Linked DNA regions of Homo sapiens: region 2 is linked to region 1. The links are contacts of gene promoters, found by promoter capture Hi-C in blood cells and fetal thymus (Javierre and others, 2016). All regions are on one chromosome and are shown on one strand. The core of a region is centred on a gene start or on the middle of the fragment in contact, and the rest is flanking DNA. Distances in the headings are between cores, read along the strand shown. Region 1 holds the start of PPP2R2A (protein phosphatase 2 regulatory subunit Balpha). Region 2 has its middle 53 kb from the start of CDCA2.

The links. The method cuts DNA at HindIII sites, captures the fragments that hold promoters and counts their contacts. A CHiCAGO score of 5 or more calls a contact.
Region 2: a fragment that was not itself captured here is called in contact with the fragment with the promoter of PPP2R2A in region 1 in 4 of 17 cell types (total B cells, megakaryocytes, naive B cells and 1 more); the score reaches 7.2 in total B cells.

What each region holds. Positions count from the first base shown.
Region 1 is chr8:26,288,579-26,294,235 of GRCh38, reverse strand. PPP2R2A (protein phosphatase 2 regulatory subunit Balpha) reads right to left here and starts at 2,728. Exons shown (of 10, transcript NM_002717.4): 1 at 2,410-2,728; 2 at 496-570. The coding sequence starts at 2,416. RefSeq lists a silencer at 2,577-2,926. The HindIII fragment of the contact is 3,300 bases long and covers 1,641-4,940 here.
Region 2 is chr8:25,509,826-25,515,482 of GRCh38, reverse strand. No RefSeq gene overlaps it. Among named protein-coding and RNA genes, the nearest start is that of CDCA2, 53 kb to the right of the region's middle. The HindIII fragment of the contact is 4,480 bases long and covers 1,101-5,580 here.

The DNA.
Region 1 (5,657 bases), core at 1,479-3,978:
TCACAGAATATGCCAAGCAGCATCACACTCCCAAAGTGGACAAATTCAAAAGTAGTTAAAAAATCTTCCCATAAAAATCAAAGATGCCGTTAAGAATGTTTCTGAGCCAAATGTTGATGGCACCTATTTCAATTTACTTATCTAAAACCAATGTACAAACATAAAAATGCATCACCATTTATTTGTATGTGGAATTTACATAACAAAGAAACCCTTATATGGAGCTCAGAGCTTTCATGTGAGGATCTTATATGTCTCATCATCTACCGCTCCTTCCATGTAAATTCAGAGGAAAAAATAATAAAAACAAGGCGTAAATAACAAATGAAATTTAAGGCTGTTTTTCAGAAAGGTATCTTTTAAAACTGTTCTTACATTTCTTGGACAACAAAATCATCTTGAATTTATAGCAGTCTCGGCTTCAAGGAAATCCTCCAGTAGGAAACATTTCTGCAAAAATTATATATCCAAATTTTGCATTAAACGCTTTCTTACCTTCTGCTACATCATCATCTACTGCTCCTTTCACCTGAGAAAAACACCACTGAATATCATTCCCTCCTCCAGCTCCTGGAAAAAGAAAACATACCAATTAAAACCGAGTTCTGCTTATGTTGACTCTCGTAAACACAAAGATGGTATCCATGGTTGGCATGATACTAACAGCCTAGTTCTGCCCACACATACAACTACCACCAAGAGCACCAGTTTGGAAAGAGGTTAGTCCCCAATACTTGGTACTGCATTAGAAAGAAAAAAAAGATTCCAGGTACGAAATATTTAAAGGCACATGTTCTGTGGTCATTAAACATCTGTTCACAAACTTCCTGTCAAATACAGTAAAAGCCTTACATTCAGGCAAGACCTACCAGAAAAAAAGTAAATACCAAGAGTTAAAGAGTTTTCTTAAGTGTACAAAAAGCCTGCAGAAGAGTTAATAAGGTTAAACTACCATGAAACATAGAACGAAGAGAAAACTTCGGGAACATTACTGCCTGGGTAAGGAGTAATGATTCATATGAACCTTATCACCAAAGTGCACACACAGCAAACACTACACCCATTTCTTTGCATTCATTACCAGCAAATCACTGGCTCCAGACAGAGAGGAAAAGAAACCGAAATGAATGCTGCTAAAGAGACTGTCAAAGGAAGCTTGTTCTGCCTCCCTTCACCTCATCCCTTGACTCCAAAGGACCTGGCAAAGAATTCATTTTGCTAATGTCATCTCGTGCAAAACAATTTTAATCTCATTTCATTTTTCAACAAGGCCAACAAGCAACTTGTTTATAGCAAACCGTAAGTCAATCCGACATGTTAACTTTTTCAAAAGGTTTAATTATCTAAATAATGAATACAGCACGGAAAACTGGTCTCATCTCGGAATGTTTCTATTTCACGTGCAAGTACTGAGGTCGAAATGATTGAAAATGTCCTGGGGCTCTAGGGAGAAAGAAACTGAATCTAAATCTGCAACTGATTCTACTACATGAAGGAAAAGATTTAGCAATACCAACATGTACAAAAAGAATTCTCAAAGCAATTACATTACTTCTCTCTCCCCCATCACCCCTATTCCTTGCTAAATTTATTTCCAAACTGGTTTTCTCTCTACATCCTTTCCCCTCCCCTTCAAAGCTTCTACCTAAATCTCTCTCCTCCTTGCTATTTATATCTCTGAACTCCGCAACTATTTTAACTAACTCTACCAAACCCTTTTGGGAAAAGGACATCTGCAAAAAAGCTAACATGCTAAACGCAAAGTTTAAATTATTTTCATGCAACTTGCTGTACATGAAAGGCCTTGCACTCTTCGGCGGTAAAAGGGAAGAAACGGAAACGAAATGGTTCGAAACAAAAAATTTAGGCTTCCAGTCTCAAAAATATTGGCATCTACAGTGGGGAAAAAATACACATATGCCCCCACTGTATTTTAACTTATAAGGCGCTCTTCCTTCTCGAGGCAAAATAAATGTGTATATACACCCAAGAAGGCTTGCAGCAGGGGGAAAAATAGAAATTAAATGAAGACCTGCAGGAAAAAAAAATAAAGGCGGGGGGCAAGGTGGGGAGGTGGGAGAAGATCCACCAGGCTCCCGAGCGGGAGGGACAAATCTGCACGCACCCCCACCCCGCCCCACCCACGCCTCACCCCAAGCTCGCCGGCACACCCCACCCCCACCCCCGCCACGGCGCCAGCCCCGTTCTCCAAGCCCAGTGACTCTCACCGTGACCACTTGCCTCCCGGGAGCCCTCCCCGCCCCCACCCCACCCCTCTGGACCCTACTCCCTCAAACCCGAGGGGCGCCCTGTGGCTCTGCGCGAGGCGCGGGCGGTCGCTAGGGGGTGATGGAGGGAGGAATAAGGAAGCGGTGCCTTGTCAGGGGGCGAGGGGGATTTCTCCTTTACCTGCCATGTTGCGCTGCAAATGGTGACCCTGCTGGGTTCCTCGGGGTCTCCGCTTCCTGAACTCACCCCCCTCACCTGGGGATGGGGGGGTAGAGAGGGCGGATGGCGGCGGATGGCACCTGCGGGGGGAGGGGACGGGGGCCGGGGGGAAAAGGAAGGAGGGGCGGGCAGACCAGCCGGCAGGATGCTAGATTTCACTCTGGGGCTTCCCCGCTCGTGCTCTTTCTCCGGCAGCGGCGGCGGCGACTACGACAGCGACGGCGGCGGCGGCAGCGGCAGGGGCAGGCGACTCCACTTTCAAAATGGCGCCGGCTGGCCTGGCCAGTGACGTCACCTAGGGGGCGGAGCCGCCGGGCTGGGGCGGAGAGCGGAGGGGGAGGGGCGGGGGAGCGGCCGGGCGGCTCTTGGCCACGCCCCCTTCCTGCTGCGCCTGTGCCCCGCCCTCCGTGTCCCGGCCGGCAGGGCCTGCGCCGCGCCAGCGTCTCGCCATGGCATACCCTCTGTCCGCACCGCCTGCGCCAGGCCGCGGCTGTGTGCACCTAGCAGTGTCCCAGCCTCGAGCACTAGCGCCGGGGCTCTGGGGCGGGCTTAGGAGTCCAGTTTACGTGCTCTCCTGCAAGGATTCATGGGGTCCTATGTCTTCTAGGAATACCTGGGCCGGGCACGGTGGCTCATGCCTGTAATCCCAGCACTTTGGGAGGCTGAGGCGGGCGGATCACAAGGTCAGGAGTTCGAGACCAGCCTGGCCAACATGGTGAAACCCCGTCTCTACTTAAAAATATACAAAAATTAGCCAGGCGTGGTGGTGTGCGCCTGTAATCCTAGCTACTTGGGAGGCTGAGGTGTGAGAATTGCTTGAACCCGGGAGGCAGAGGTTGCAGTGAGCCGAGATCGCACCACTGCACTCCAGCCTGGGTGACAGAGCAAGACTCCGTCTCAAAAACAAAAAACAAACAAACAAAAAACCCCGTACTGCTTCTTAGGAAATTGTCACTTTGGATTAGCCCTGAGACCACAAAGAAAGGGACAGCGGTGCAGACTTACTGCTCAGCCGGGGTGAAAGTTCACGGGGTTCAGAGGGACACGATTGGGCTGGTTCTATCTGGGTGAATTAAATTACCTTCTCGTGGGCCCCAGGATCCAAGGCGGGAGTCCTAGGCACTGCGGACACTAAGAGTGATTTCTAAGAGAAACCTGAGTTTGTGATGAGAGGGTATGGCCCAAGAAGTGACCCGGCGTCTCTCCAGCTAAACGTGTTGGACTGCGTGCTTAAGAGCTGGGCTCAGGGCCGGGCGCGGTGGCTCACGCCTGTAGTCCCAGCACTTTGGGAAGCCGAGGTGGGAGGATCGCTTGAGGCCAGGAGTTCCGAGTTCGGCCTGGAGAACATAGGGAGACCCATCTCTCCAAAAAAAATTTTTTTTTTTAAATTAGCCAGGTATGATGGCGTGCCTATAGTCCCAGCTACTAGAAGGCTGCAGTAGGAGGACTGCTTGAGCCCAGTAGGTCAAGGCTGCAGTGAGCTATGTGATCACATCACTGCACTCCAGCCTGGGAGACAGAATGCGATCCTGTCAAAACAAAAACAAAAACACAAAAAGTGCTGGGCTCTGAAGCCAGGCTGCCTAATATGATTCCAAGGCTCAGGAGATGAAGATGACAGTCCTACCTGATAGGATTGTTGGGGAGATGAAATGACTTAATTTGAGCACATGATAAATGTTAGCTGCCGTTATTATTAGATTTGTATTGAAAGCATCGTCAGTAAGGTTAAGAGGTAGAAGGAAAAAAATGAACAGGAAATGCCAGTCATCAGCTATGAGGGGATGTGCACTTCTGTTGAAAGATGCTCTAATGATGCAGTTGCTATATACAGCACACTTTACATATCCCATTCCATCTCCACGATACTCCTAGGAGATAGATATGCACATTTTACACGTGAAAAACACCTGTAAAAGCATCCAGAATTTGGCCTAAGGCTGAATGGAGTGATAAAGGCGTTTGGAAACCAAGAAGGGGGAGTTAAAGATATTTACACGTCCTCCCCACCATCTCCACTTTCTACCATATTTTTGATTTCCAGGACAGTTGAACTGTAATGCAACGTTCAAAATTCCTTCAAAGGAACAACTGCACCACTGCATGATCATTCCTCTGTTTCTGCATGAATATTTCCCACGTTACCAATGAATTAATCAAAACTAAAAATCCACCCTCTATGTGTCATCTTTTGGCTACCTGTACAACAGGTACAAAACTTCAGTGCACTGCGTGCTGTATTTTCTTCAATGCTGGTGTTTTTCATAAATGTATTTCTCTGGGTATGCCTTCATTTATTTTCCTTTTTGCTTGCTCTGCCCTTCTTTGGTGGTTCAATCCCAGACTCTCCAGGGAGAGCTCTCCATCTTAACCAGAACCCAGAAGGAAGGAGAGAGAGAGAAAGGAAGACAGAAAAAGAGAATATAGACTTTACATACCCTGAAAATGATTTGGTTTACATAAATGATTTGTTCTTAGAAGCCAATAAAGCTTGCCTAGAAACTGGGATAATTATAACAAAAATGTATATAGCACCGACTTTGTGCCAGGTGCTGTTTTAAGAACATTATTTGGAGCCTTGGGGGTACTGCATGCCTGTGGAATGGGCTGACTTGGGTCTGATAATCAAGGGCCAGTGCACCCTGGCACCCTGGTGTAAACGACCTGGCTCTTTTTGGGCCCTGGTCAGCCCTTTCAGAGGACCATAAGCCACCTCCCTTTCATCAGAATGGCCATTAGGAGGAGAGGCCAGAACACCCGCTAGCCCAGAGTCAAGGGTTGCTCTTGTCCATCTCACTTCCATATCTATCTTCCACTTAAAAAAACATTTTTGCCAGGCACGGTGGCTCACGCCTGTAATCCCAATACTTTGGGAGGCCAAGGCAGGTGGATCAGCTGAGGTTGGGAGTTCAAGACCAGCCTGACCAACATGGAGAAACTCCATCTCTACTAAAAATACAAGAAAAATAGCCTTGTGTGGTGGTGCGTGCCTGTAATCCCAGCTACTCGGGAGGCTGAGGCAGGAGAATCGCTTGAACCAGGGAGGCGGAGATTGTGGTGAGCCGATATCAAGCCATTGCACTCCAGCCTGGGCGACAAAAAGCAAAACTCCCTCTCAAAAACAAAAAAAAACAAAACTTTTTTTTCTTTTAAAGACAGAGTCTAGCTCTGTCACCCAGGCTGGAGTGCAGTGGCATGATCATATCTCA
Region 2 (5,657 bases), core at 2,091-4,590, 780 kb after region 1:
CTATTATCAGAGTTCATTTAAAAAATATTTGCAAAAAGTAGTCTATTTAAAAGTATTACCACAAATGCAATTTCTTAAGACAAATCTCCAACTTTTTAGAAAGAATGCCACCTGCAAGCTGTAAATATGTGCATTAATTTTTCCCCATAGTATTTGCTTTGGCTGTGACCTATCCGAATACTCAGTTGAACAAGGGCTAAAAATTGTCAAACCGAATTCTTGCTTGAGAGCTGAACTCTTAACTACAGCCAGTTTGAGAGAAACACATATCCAGGTTTAGGGAATATGTTTTGTTTGTTTTGGCTATGACATAGGGCAGAACAGTTTCCATCCCTTCGAATGCATTCAAGAGAGTCTGAAATATTGCACAATAAAAGCCATTCATTATATCTGTCTCCTTTCCCTTCCAAAAACAAAAATGGCTGCCCGGTTCCAAATCTACACAGGGGGCAGGAAGAAGGGAGGCAGAGGGTCACTGGAAATCACCCAAGACTAACACCAGGTTTTTCAGGTTTGAGTCAGGGAATACTTCTGCAATCTTCATTCCCAGCGTTTACTTAAAAAAGAAAAGACAAGACTGGCTGCTTTATTGATTATTCCTCTGTTGTGAACAATTAGAAAATGGACATACTGTATTTTGTACAAACGTTAGGCAGAAAATCTTACATTTTACTTTCGAGTGATTGGCATCCAAACTAAATGTACTTGAACTGAAAAAATCCCATTTTACTCATCTTCTCTATAACGTTTCAACTGTTTGACCCCCATTTTATACTGAAAAATTATTCCCATGTTTGAATCAGACATAGGGATGAACCTATTTTTGCAAGCACCTGCTACTTAGCAGTTATGTGATGTGAAAAAAGAAGAAATTATTGACATTTACTTCCTTGTTTCAACAAGGACCTGGGATATGAGAACACTGGGAATGCAGTTTGTTTTTCAAAAGCAAAAGAAATGCCAGTATCAGATCACTGTATTTGACATTATAAAATATTATCAAAGTGGAAGAATTTTTAAAGCAAACTTTAAGACAGTGAATAAACCATGAGAATAAATTATTAGATATGGCAAATATATGTACTTTTAAATTCCAAGCTTAAAAATTCACACACATACACTTAAGAATTTGGAACTTCAAAAACTTAAGATAATTTGACATTTCTTCAATTACATCTAAAACCAAAATGTTAGCTGTTTGCATCCCTGAAGGCAACTTATTATCACAGAACATAAATCAAGATAGTCAATTTGTATGCCTAGGATAAATGAGAAAAAGACTTAGTCAGCTTTCCAGGTGGTCACCGGAAATTTTGTGATGAAATCCCAACTTACCCTTTAGAAAATGCAAACCTGTATTCTTCTTTAATGTAAATGCTTATTTATTTTCTCTTTTCATGTAAGAGATATAACGCTTACAAAGTATCAAAAAATTAAAAGCAGTTTCAGAAAATATTTGCTTCTCAATTGCCTAGAAATTTCTAAAAACCTTTCTAATAAATCTTTAAGGTCATATCAAAATCAGGCTAAGTATGATCTTGGTTGAAGATGTGGAACAGAAATATGTATCAGTTGAAAGGCAGTAATTACTTATCTTCTCATTTAAGCTATGTTACTCGCAGTCTGTAACACAATTTCATAAACAGAAAAGCATCAAAGAATATGCAAAAATGAACACACCTGCACAATATTAGACAAACTTGAAACTATTAGGCCATAGTATGTTAGTAATTAACCCATTCTAGAGCTAAATCAAGGCTATGCAATAATCTTCAAATAAATTTAAGACACCCCAAAAGGGGGATGTACAATTATTTGCTGTAATTTAATCCCAATTCCACTCACTTGGTCTAGGACTCCAAACCCACAGTGAAACCCTTTAGACACACTACAAAGACACCCAATAGTATGAGACAGAAATGCCTAAGCAATTGAGAACAGAGCAGGTTTCTTTAAAATTTTAGGTACAATTCACAACTTGTAGTCTAGTTTCAAATCCATGCTTTTCCAGATGTATTTATAGGTTAGAATTTAATGAAAGTTAAAAAATACTTAAAAGAAAAACATGAGATGAAGCCAGCCTGTATCACCTAGTCTCAGTTTAATGAATAATGAAATTATTGAATAATAATCAAAGGAGATTTGGAATGGGATGTGCCTTTTGGGTCCCCATTCCTCTAAAACTCCTATTAGTGAATTTGGCTCAAGCATCACTTATTCTGGAAAGAAACTAAACTTGCGTGATCTGAAGGTTGATACCCCCTGGAGGGCTGACAGGTTGGGGTATCTCTTTTTTATCATACCCTGTATTGTAATTTTGTCCCCTTACAGAAAGAAAACTGAGCATCTTGAAAGCAATTTTATTTAGAAATTAATGCCTGGCACATAGTAGTTGTTGAATAAATGGCTGGCAAATTATTTTATTAATGAGTCCATAATCTGCCTACCTAGAATGAGCTGGTGCAGGAAAATTTTCCTACATTAGGAAACAATCCTCAAATGCTAAGGTTACTGAGTAAGGACAGTGACATTTATTATTTATTTGAGAAAGGGTCTCGCTGTCACTCAGGCTGGAGTGCAGTGGCACGAACATGGCTCACTGTAGCCTCAACTTCCTGGGCTCAAACGATCCTCCCTACCTCAGCCTCCAGAGTAGCTGAAACCAACCATGCCCAGCTAATTTAAATTTTTTTTTTTTTTGTAGAGGAAGGGTCTTATCGTGTTGCCCAGGCTGGTCTCAAACTCCTGGGCTCGAGTAATCCTCCTGCCTTGGCCTCCCAAAGTGCTGGGATTACAAGTGTAAGCCACCATGCCTGGCTAAGTTTTACACTAAATCAAACTATAATACAAACTTCAATTTATGAAAATAAATGAGTCATGCTTATTAGGTAATTTTTTAGCAAATTGAATTTTGAATCTTATTTTAATTCACCTTATTTTCTTACTGCTATACAGAGTAGTGTCCAGAGAGAGAATTACTTCTTGATGACTGAATCTTTTAGTAACTTAGGGTCAAATTTTAAATCATAAACCATAGTAAACTAGTTTCCAGAGGACTAGGCTGAACGCAGAGGCACCCAGAGAAGTTGGTTTCCTTGTTGTGTCTCTGATAGCCTGTCATTGCTGGCTTCACTTCTTGCACCCAAATGGTACTACAAGTCTGGGAATAACTGAAGGCCCCAGACAGATGTGGCTGGTCAACCTTTTGCTTCTTCTGGCCTCCTCTCTACCCTCCAAAAAAACCCCTAAACTATGATTTTAAAAAATCCAAAACTTTCTTATATAGTCACAGTGGTATATTGGTAGAAGAATAGACATACAGATGAACAGAATAATGTCCAGAAATAGATCTACACATATAAGGTCAAATAATTTTAACAGAGGTGCCAATGTAATTCAATGAGAAATGGTTAATCTTTTCAACAAATGGTGTTGAATGATTTCCATTAAAAATAAATAACCCACCTTCATCTCACACAAGAAAATTAATGTGGATCTAACACTTAAGTGAGAGCTAAAACTATAGAACTGGAAGAATACACAGGAGAAAATCTTTGTGCCTTTGAGTTAGACAAAGATTTCTTAGCTAGGACACAAAAAGCATGAACCATTAAAGTAAAAACAAGGTAAACTGGACTTCATCAAAATGAAAATCTGTTCTTCAAAAGACACTGCTAAGCAAATAAAAAGACAAGCCACAGAATGGGAAAAAATATTTTAAGAGACATATCCAATAAAGGATGTGTATCCAAATGTACAGATTCTTTTAACTCAATAACAGTAAGACAATAACAGCAACAACAAACGTGGGCAAGAAATTTGGATAGACATCACAACAAGGAAGATATAAAGATGGCAAATAAGCATAGGAAAGATGTTCAATATCATTAGTCATTAGAGAAATAAATCAAAACCCATGAGAAACTACTGCACACATCCTAGAATGGCTACAATGAAAAAAGGCTAACAATACCAGAGGCTGGTGAAGATGTGGAACAAACAAAACGTGTTGCCAGTGGAAATGCAAAATCATGCAGCCACTATGGAAAAGTTTAGCAGTTTCCTAAAAAGGTAAACATATATTAATACTACCACCATACAGCCCAGGAACCCTACCACTAGATATTTATGCAAGATAAATGAAAACATGTGACTATAAAAAATGATCCATATGTGAATTGTTACAGCAGCTTTATTCACATTAGCCCCAAACCAGAAATAATCGAAATATCCATCAAGTGGTAAACTGATAAACAAGTTTTGGTACATCTATAAAATGGAATAAACAAGTATCAGCAATAAACAAGTATCAACTACTTACAGCATGCAAGCATGGGTGAATCTCAAAAGCATTACGCTAAGCTAAAGACACAAAGGGGTATATATTATATGATCTCATTTGTATGACATTCTGGAGAAGACAGAACTGTAACACTAGAAATCAGATGAGCAGTTGTGAAGACCCGGGGTTGGCAGGTAGAAAATTGACTACAAAGAGGTGGGAGGAATTTTGGGGTGACAGAAATGTCCTATTACTTGATTGTGGCACTGGTTACATGGCTGTATAAATTTGCCAAAATTCTGGATGCTTTAAAAACGCGAACTTCACCGTAGGTTAATTATACCTCAATAAACTTGACTTTGAAAGGTAGCTCTTTCAATCTAAAGCATGAACCAGGTATAATTAATCATTCTCTCCTCCACATACCAGGTCTAAGGCCCACCCTCAATTCTGCAGCTTAAGTGGAAGTAGAGGCAGTAGTGACAGAAGATGGAAGCAAAATGGCATTAAGTAGTAGGAACAGAAAATGAGAGGCAGAAAGAAGGCAAGGATGCCAAAATGTGTGTAAGGGGAATGTGCCAGCTAAGATCCACAGAAGAGAACGTAATCATTTTAATTTCAAGGAATTTATCTTACAGATATTTTCAACAAGCCCAATATGGCTTTGTATTTGCTACATTTACTGCTATAATTGCAAAAGCTGGAGATAACTGACATTCATCCATTAGTAAGGAGATGACCACCTTCATTACAGATGTTCAAGGTATATGAAGGGGTTAAAAAAGACTGAAGTAGCAGCACTAGGGCTGTCCATAAAAAGACTAAAGGATACTCATGGCATTTTGTTGAATTAAAAAAACCAAGTGGTAGAATGGCACATATAGTGATCCTGTTAGAAAACAACAAAACGATGCATGCATGTTTATACAAGAAAGGTCTGGAAGGTGCATGCCAGGTGTTAAGTGCTTGCAGAGAGAGCTGCAGAGAGGAGGGTGTGGCTGGATGACACCTGCGTGGAATGCAAGGAAGATAGATGCCATATTTCCACTTTTAAATTCCGTACAGTTCTGTGTTTTTCAATTGATACATACTACTTATGTAAGAAAAAAGTAAAAATAGGGGGCCACACAGGCAACAGCCATTAGGTTATGCACAGAGAAGGAAAAACTTCAGAGGTTGTGCTGCCATCTTCTGGAACAAACAAGAATCTACAGGAACAGAAACATGATGGAAGAACAAGGGTTAGTTACTGCAACGAAAAAACATGGCAGGAAAAAAAACCATTTTGAAGCCAAGCTTTTGATTTAACCATGAATGAAAACAAATGGGAAAACAACAACAACAAAAAACAAAACAAAACAAAAAACAAGAATGA